2 separate regions of the Homo sapiens genome follow, and region 2 is linked to region 1. The links are contacts of gene promoters, found by promoter capture Hi-C in blood cells and fetal thymus (Javierre and others, 2016). All regions are on one chromosome and are shown on one strand. Each heading gives the region's core, a stretch centred on a gene start or on the middle of the fragment in contact. The rest is flanking DNA. Distances are from core to core; before and after follow the strand shown.

Region 1 (3,745 bases), core at 368-2,867:
CTCCATCATGCTTTCTTTTTGCATGTTTTTTAAATTCTGAAATATAGCATACCTACAAAAATAGTGTGGGAAAATATCTATGTGCAGTTTTTTTTTTTTTTTTTTTTGAGACAGAGTCTCGCTCTTTCACCCAGGCTGGAGTGCAGTGGTGCAGTCTTGGCTCACTGCAACCTCTGCCTCCCAAGTTCAAGCAATTCTCCTGCCTCAGCCTCCCGAGTAGCTGGGATTATAGGCGCTCACCACCATGCCCGGCTAATTTTTGTATTTTTAGTAGAAACGGGGTTTCACCATATAGATCAAGCTGGCCTCGATCTCCCAACCTCGTGATCCACCCGCCTCGGCCTCCCAAAGTACTGGGATTACAGGTGTGAGCCACTGTGCCCGGCCCCGAAAATATCTATGTACAGTTTAAAGAACAACCATGTACCACGTACCCACCACCAGCCCAATGAACAGAATTAAACATAGCCCAGAAGCTCCCTATGTAGCCCTCCCTAGACATAGCCCCTATGCTGAGTCTTCTATTCATTTTCTTGTCTTTTAAAAAAGTTTTTATTGGCTGGGTGTGGTGGCTTATGCCTGTAATCCCAGCACTTTGGGAGGCCGAGGCCAGCAGATCACTTGAGGTCAGGAGTTTGAGACCAGCCTGGCCAACGTGGTGAAATCCCGTCTGTACTAAAAACGCAAAAATAAGCCGGGTGTGGTGGCGCACACCTGTAATCCCAGCTATTCAGGAGGCTGAAGCAGGAGAATCACTTGAACCTGGGAGGTGGAGTTTTTAATAGATATTGGCAAACTGCCCTTCATGGCTATATAAGATATATATATATATTTATTTACAGAGATATAGGAATTTTAGAATAGACCAGTCCTATGTAACCCACTCTGTTCCACAGATGGATGAGTCAACCGACGCGGAGAGTGACTCCACACAAAGCTGGTGGGAAACACCATTAGAATCCATGCAGGTGTCTGGACTTCCAGTCCTAAATCTCTCTTTTTGTGTGTGTCTGTGTGTGTGGGGGGGGTGTTTGTTTGTTTGTTATTGTTGTTTGTTTTAGAGACAGGTTCTTGCTCTGTCGCCCAGACTAGAGTGCAGTGGCGCGGACGCAGCTCACTGCAGCCTCGACCTCCTGAGTCCTAGAGTTCTTGAAGTTCCTGTTAACATTTCATTATATTGATGCTGCCTGCAGTTTGCTAACTTAATGGTAGTAGTTTAATTTCTAATTTCTCATGCTTTCTGTTTTTTCCCTTGGGCTATTTTGCCATCCTGGATCGATCATGTGCGCTGTCAAGTGACCTTTGGGACAATCCTGCCGATCATGAGGTTTGCCGAGTGACCAATCTTCCCTCGTCTACAATTTGCTGGACTTGGAAAAGTGACTGGAAGGGAGCAGAGTTCCGTCAGCCACTGCCAAGAAACCATTTAAATTACTAAGAGAGCGAAGGAAAGCACGTGACGTTCTGCAATCCCGTTGCAAGCGGTTTTGCAAGCCGGAGGTTGTTGCACCTTTTAGAGTCTAGGAAGCCCGCCTCTCGGTGGCGGAGTCGTCATTGGATGTTGCGGCTGTCAATCGCCAGGGCTATAAATAAGGGAGTCCGGCGGCTCCTCTATCAGGAAGATTGTGCATGCCGTGGGTCTGACGGCTTGAGTAGCGCTAGGGAGAATCCCTGCAGGTAATATTTGACTTTTGCTTCATATTAATCTGAGTGGAAAATAAAAGGGCCCTCTTCTCCTCTCGCTTCCCTGCCGGGCAGGCGCCATGGCGGAAGCCTCGGCGACGGGCGCCTGCGGAGAGGCGATGGCAGCGGCGGAAGGCTCCTCGGGCCCGGCGGGCTTGACTCTGGGCCGGAGCTTCTCGAACTACCGGCCCTTCGAGCCCCAGGCGTTGGGCCTCAGCCCGAGCTGGCGGCTGACGGGCTTCTCCGGCATGAAGGGCTGAGGCTGCAAGGTCCCGCAGGAGGCGCTGCTCAAACTCCTGGCGGGACTGACGCGGCCGGACGTGCGGCCCCCGCTGGGCCGGGGCCTGGTGGGTGGCCAGGAAGAGGCGTCCCAGGAAGCCGGCCTGCCGGCAGGAGCGGGCCCCAGCCCCACCTTTCCAGCCCTGGGCATCGGGATGGACTCCTGCGTCATCCCCCTGAGGCACGGGGGCCTGTCACTGGTGCAGACCACGGACTTCTTTTACCCCTTGGTAGAAGATCCCTACATGATGGGGCGCATAGCTTGTGCCAACGTGCTGAGTGACCTCTACGCCATGGGGATTACTGAGTGTGACAACATGTTGATGTTACTCAGCGTCAGCCAGAGTATGAGTGAGGAGGAACGCGAAAAGGTAACGCCACTCATGGTCAAAGGCTTTCGGGATGCGGCTGAGGAAGGAGGGACGGCAGTGACCGGTGGGCAAACGGTGGTCAACCCTTGGATTATAATCGGTGGAGTTGCCACTGTAGTATGCCAACCAAATGAGTTCATAATGCCGGACAGCGCCGTCGTTGGGGACGTGCTGGTGTTAACCAAACCGTTAGGAACCCAGGTTGCTGTCAATGCCCACCAATGGCTGGATAATCCTGAAAGATGGAATAAAGTAAAGATGGTGGTCTCCAGAGAAGAGGTGGAGCTGGCCTATCAGGAAGCCATGTTCAATATGGCTACCCTCAACAGAACTGCTGCAGGTTTAATGCACACATTTAATGCCCATGCGGCCACAGATATCACAGGCTTTGGCATTCTAGGACACTCCCAGAACCTTGCAAAACAACAAAGAAATGAAGTGTCCTTTGTTATTCATAATCTGCCAATAATTGCCAAGATGGCTGCCGTCAGCAAGGCCAGTGGACGGTTTGGGCTTCTTCAAGGAACCTCAGCTGAAACCTCTGGGGGATTACTGATTTGTCTGCCAAGAGAACAGGCGGCTCGCTTTTGTTCTGAAATCAAATCCTCCAAGTACGGAGAGGGTCACCAAGCGTGGATCGTTGGCATTGTGGAAAAGGGAAACCGAACGGCCCGGATCATTGACAAGCCGCGAGTTATTGAAGTCCTGCCTCGTGGGGCCACAGCTGCTGTTCTTGCTCCTGACAGTTCAAATGCCTCCTCTGAGCCTAGCTCGTGAGATGAAAGAACAGAAGTTGTTTGGACCTTAGAGCCATTGTCCACAATCACGGATGGTTCTCAAGAGTTGATTGTAAGAAATTTCCAAAGAAGGCTGCCTGCATAGTGGTTCCGGCTGCCCTTTCTAGGTGATTGGAATCAGCCCATCTAAAGCAGTCTTTATATGCATTCCGAGGCCAGAGTAACATTTTGAACTTTGGGGGGATATTTGTTCATCACTTGGGTAGAAGAGGAGCAAAAATACCTCTGTTTTCTCTTGCCAAAGTAAGATGAAGCTATTCCAGGTTGAGGGATTTTTCTTTGCACGGGGTTGATTAATTTCTGCACAGGGAGTGAGATTATTAAAGTAACACACACACAAAGTAAATTGCAAAATGAAAAAAATTAGAAGCAAATGAGTTTTGGACCAATATTGTTGATAAATCTAAATTGTTAAGAGAGATCTTATAATGCAACATCAAATTCTTTATTCAATTTTACTGAAGTACTGGCTCTTTCCTGCTCTGGACAAGAATTGAGCAACTTGTCTGATGACTGGGAAAGGAGGACCTGCAACCATCTGACTTGGTCTCTGTTAATGACGTCTCTCCCTCTAAACCCCATTAAGGACTGGGAGAGGCAGAGCAAGCCTCAGAG
Region 2 (3,745 bases), core at 832-3,331, 150 kb before region 1:
ACTATCTAAACAAACAAACAAACAAACAAAAAACCAAAACAAACAAACAAAAAAACCCTGCACCCTAAAGCTTGGGTGAACTTCTCTGTTTGGGAACAATCAGCACCTGTTGTCAAAAATCATTGCAGGGAGAAAAAAGCACGTCCCTGTGATACCCCACTGGGAGTAGACACCTGAAAGTTTGTGCCCGGTTGCATCCGGATTTTGTCCCATGTACCTTATCCCTTTGATGATTTTAAATCTGTGTCGTTTTGCTTTAATAAACCATAAATGTAAGTATAACCAATAAATAAAAATAAATAAGCAAAGCCCTTGCCACTCATTACCCAGAACAATTCTCAGGAGTGTTGGCAGCAAGCAAACCTTGAGGGAGAGGTAATGTCTGCATCCAGGACAAAGAGCAGCTTCCTTACTGCTTACTATAAAACAGCAGATGGCTGGGCATGGTGGCTCACAACTGTAATCCCAGAACTTTTGGTGGCCAAGGCAGGAGGATTGCTTGAGGCCAGGAGTTTGAGACTACCCTGGCCAACATAGCAAGACCCCATCTTATTTATTTATGTATTTATTTAGAGAAGGAGTCTCACTCTTGTCACCCAGGCTGGAGTGCAGTGGCGTGATCTTGGCTCACTGCAACCTCCACCTCCTGGGTTCAAGCAACTTTCCTGCCTCAGCCTCCCAAGTAGCTGGGATTACACTCACCTGCCACCATGCCCAGCTAATTTTAGTATTTTTGTAGAGACAGGGTTTCACCATGTTGGTCAGGCTGGTCTCGAACTCCTGACCTCAGGTGATCTGCCTGCCTTGGCCTCCCAAAGTGCTGGGATTACAGGCGTGAGCCACCGCTCCCAGCCAAATCCCATCTTTAAAAAGGAAAAAAACAGCAGGAGCTTCCTGTTCCTCCCCTATGATGCAACTCACTGTGTGTCTAGCATCCATCTGGGCACATCCCACATTGCCCCTGCAGGGGGCAGAAGGGAACCAATGCAGGCATGCTCATGCTGCTTGTTGTGCCCTGAACAGTAAGGTCTTTTGTCTCTGTTTTCTGACAGCATCCATGAAACAATAACAGACCCATTTATTAACCTATAAGTAGGGCAGCCTCAAATTCCAGATCTGACTGTAGGTATTGTTTTCCTTGACCAGATGAGGAAACAGAGGCACAGTGACATTAAATAGCTTGTCGACCGGGCACAGGGTGCACGCCTATAATCCCAGCACTTTGGGAGGCCGAGGCGGGTGGATCACCTGAGGTCAGGAGTTCGAGACCGGTCTGACCAACATGGTGAAATCCCGTCTCTACTAAATGCAAAAACATAGCCAGGCATGGTGGCACATGCCTGTAATCTCAACTACTTGGGAGGCTGAGGCAGGAGAATCACTTGAACCCGGGAGGCAAAGGTTGCAATGAGCCGAGATTGCGCCATTGCACTCCAGCCTGGGCAACAAGAGCAAAACTCCATCTCAAAAAATTTAAAAAAAAATAAATAACTTGTCCAGGATCACATATCTGGGTGACTGTAAAGTCAGCTGCCATGCAATTATTCTAAGACTGTCCTTTAAGATAACTGATGACCTAGTTAACAAATCAGTGCTTCAATTTTTATCTTACATACCTTAGTTTTCCTACTTAAGCTCTCTTGTAACTTAGCTTTCATGCCCCGCATTCTTCTAGTCTTCCTGGTGCCGCTTGTGGCTTCTGCTAGTGCGTACATGTGAGAATTCCTTCCCAGCAAGAAAGAGTCTTGCTCTGTGGCCCAGGCTGGAGTGCAGTTGTGTGATCATGGCTCACTGCAGCTTCTACTTCCCTGAGCTCAAGTGATCCTCCTGCTTCAGCCTCCTGAGTAGTTGGGACCACAGGCATGTGCCACCACACCCAACTAATTTTTTTGTATTCTTTGTAGGGATGAGGTTTCTCCATGTTGCCCAGGCTGGTCTCGAACTCCTGGGCTCAAGCAATCCTCCTGCCTTGGCTTCCTAGAGTGCTGGGATTACAGGTGTGGGCCACCTCGCCCGGCCTTATGTTTTTTCCAAATCCCAAAAATAATCAGTAAAGAAATTGGGAAAATGCAAAAAAGTGATAATTATTTATTATTTGTTTGTTTGTGTGTTTATTCATTTATTATTTTTGAGATAGAGTCTTACTCTGTTGCCCAGGCTGGAGTGCAACGGCAAGATCTCGGCTCACTGCAACCTCTGTCTCCTAGGTTCAAGCAATTCTCCTGCCTCAGCCTCCCAAGTAGCTAGGATTACAGGCGTGCGCCACCACGCCCGGCTAATTTTTTTTTTTTTTTGTATTTTTAGTAGAGATGGGGTTTCACCATGTTGGCCAGGCTGGTCTTGAACTCCTGATCTCAGGTGATTCACCTGCCTCAGCCTCCCAAAGTGCTGGGATTACAGGCGTGAGTCACCACGCCCAGCTCATCTGTATATCTTCTTTGGAGAAATGTCTATATAAATCCTATGCCTGCTTTCATCTTTTTTTTTTTTAATTCTTTTTTTGAGTGGTGTCTTGCTCTGTTGCCCAGGTTGGAATGCTGTGGTGCCATTTTGGCTCACTGCACCCTCCACCTCCCAGGCTCAAGTGATTTTCATGCCTTAGCCTCCTGAGTAGCTGGGATTACAGGTCTGTGCCACAATGCCGGCTAATTTTTGTATTTTTAGCAGAAATGGAGTTTCATCATCTCTGTTGGCTAGGCTGGTCTCGAATTTCTGGCCTCAAGTGATCTGCCTGTCTTGGCCTCCCAAAGTGCTGGGATGACAGTGTGAGCCACCGTGCCCAGCCTCTTTGCCTGCTTTTAAATTGGGTTTTTATTTTTTAGTGGTTGTTGAGTTACCGGAGTTATTTATAAATTCTGAATATTAATCCCTTATTAGACACATGATTTACAAATATTTTCTCCCATTCTGTGGAGTGTCTTTTCATTCTCAATAGTGGTTTTGCTTTTTTTTTTCTTTTGAGATGAAGTCTCACTCCATTGCCCAGGCTGGAGTGCAATGGTGCGATCTTGGCTCACTACAACCTTCACTTCCCAGGTTCAAGCGATTCTCGGGCCTCAGCCTCCCAGAGTAGCTGGGATTACAGGCATGAGCTACCATGCCCAGCTAATTTTTGTATTTTTAGTAGAGATGGAGTTTCACAATGTTGGCCAGGCTGGTCTCAAACTCCTGACCTTAGGCGATCCACCTGCCTCAGACTCCCAAAGTGCTAGGAGTACAGGTGTGAGCCACTGCACCCAGCCACCATTCATTTTAAAAGTTTTGAAAGACACAGTAAAGTTGAAGGACTTTTACAGAGAATACCCATATACTCACCACCTAGATTCTATCACTAACATTTAGTGTATCTGCTTTATCATGTAACTATCAGTTACTCTACCAGTACACTTTGTTTTTGGGTGCATGTAAAAAAAATTGCTGAAATCAGTACACTTCACCCGTAAACATTTCAACATGCATATCATTAACTAGAGCTCCACGTTTGTTTTATATATTTTTTGAGTTAAAAGTACATAAAATGCACAAACTTTAAGTGTATATTTGCTGAGTGTTGACAAAGACGTATACATCTGTAACTGAAACCCCTATCCAAATACATAACATTACCATCATCCTAGAAAGTTGCCTCATGTGGCTGGGTACAGTGGCTCATGCCTGTAATCCCAGTAGTTTGGGAGGCTGAGGCAGGCAGATCACGAGGTCAGGAGTTCGAGACCATCCTGGCCAATATGGTGAAACCCCGTCT

Evidence for each region. The method cuts DNA at HindIII sites, captures the fragments that hold promoters and counts their contacts. A CHiCAGO score of 5 or more calls a contact.
Region 2: a fragment that was not itself captured here is called in contact with the fragment with the promoter of SEPHS2 in region 1 in 15 of 17 cell types (erythroblasts, total CD8 T cells, activated CD4 T cells and 12 more); the score reaches 23.3 in erythroblasts.

The regions. Positions count from the first base shown.
Region 1 is chr16:30,443,746-30,447,490 of GRCh38, reverse strand. SEPHS2 (selenophosphate synthetase 2) reads left to right here and starts at 1,617. Exons shown (of 1, transcript NM_012248.4): 1 at 1,617-3,745. The coding sequence starts at 1,764. The coding sequence ends at 3,110. RefSeq lists a silencer at 2,033-2,152 and an enhancer at 1,479-2,425. The HindIII fragment of the contact is 8,484 bases long and covers 1-3,745 here.
Region 2 is chr16:30,595,561-30,599,305 of GRCh38, reverse strand. No RefSeq gene overlaps it. Among named protein-coding and RNA genes, the nearest start is that of ZNF785, 12 kb to the right of the region's middle. The HindIII fragment of the contact is 4,017 bases long and covers 73-3,745 here.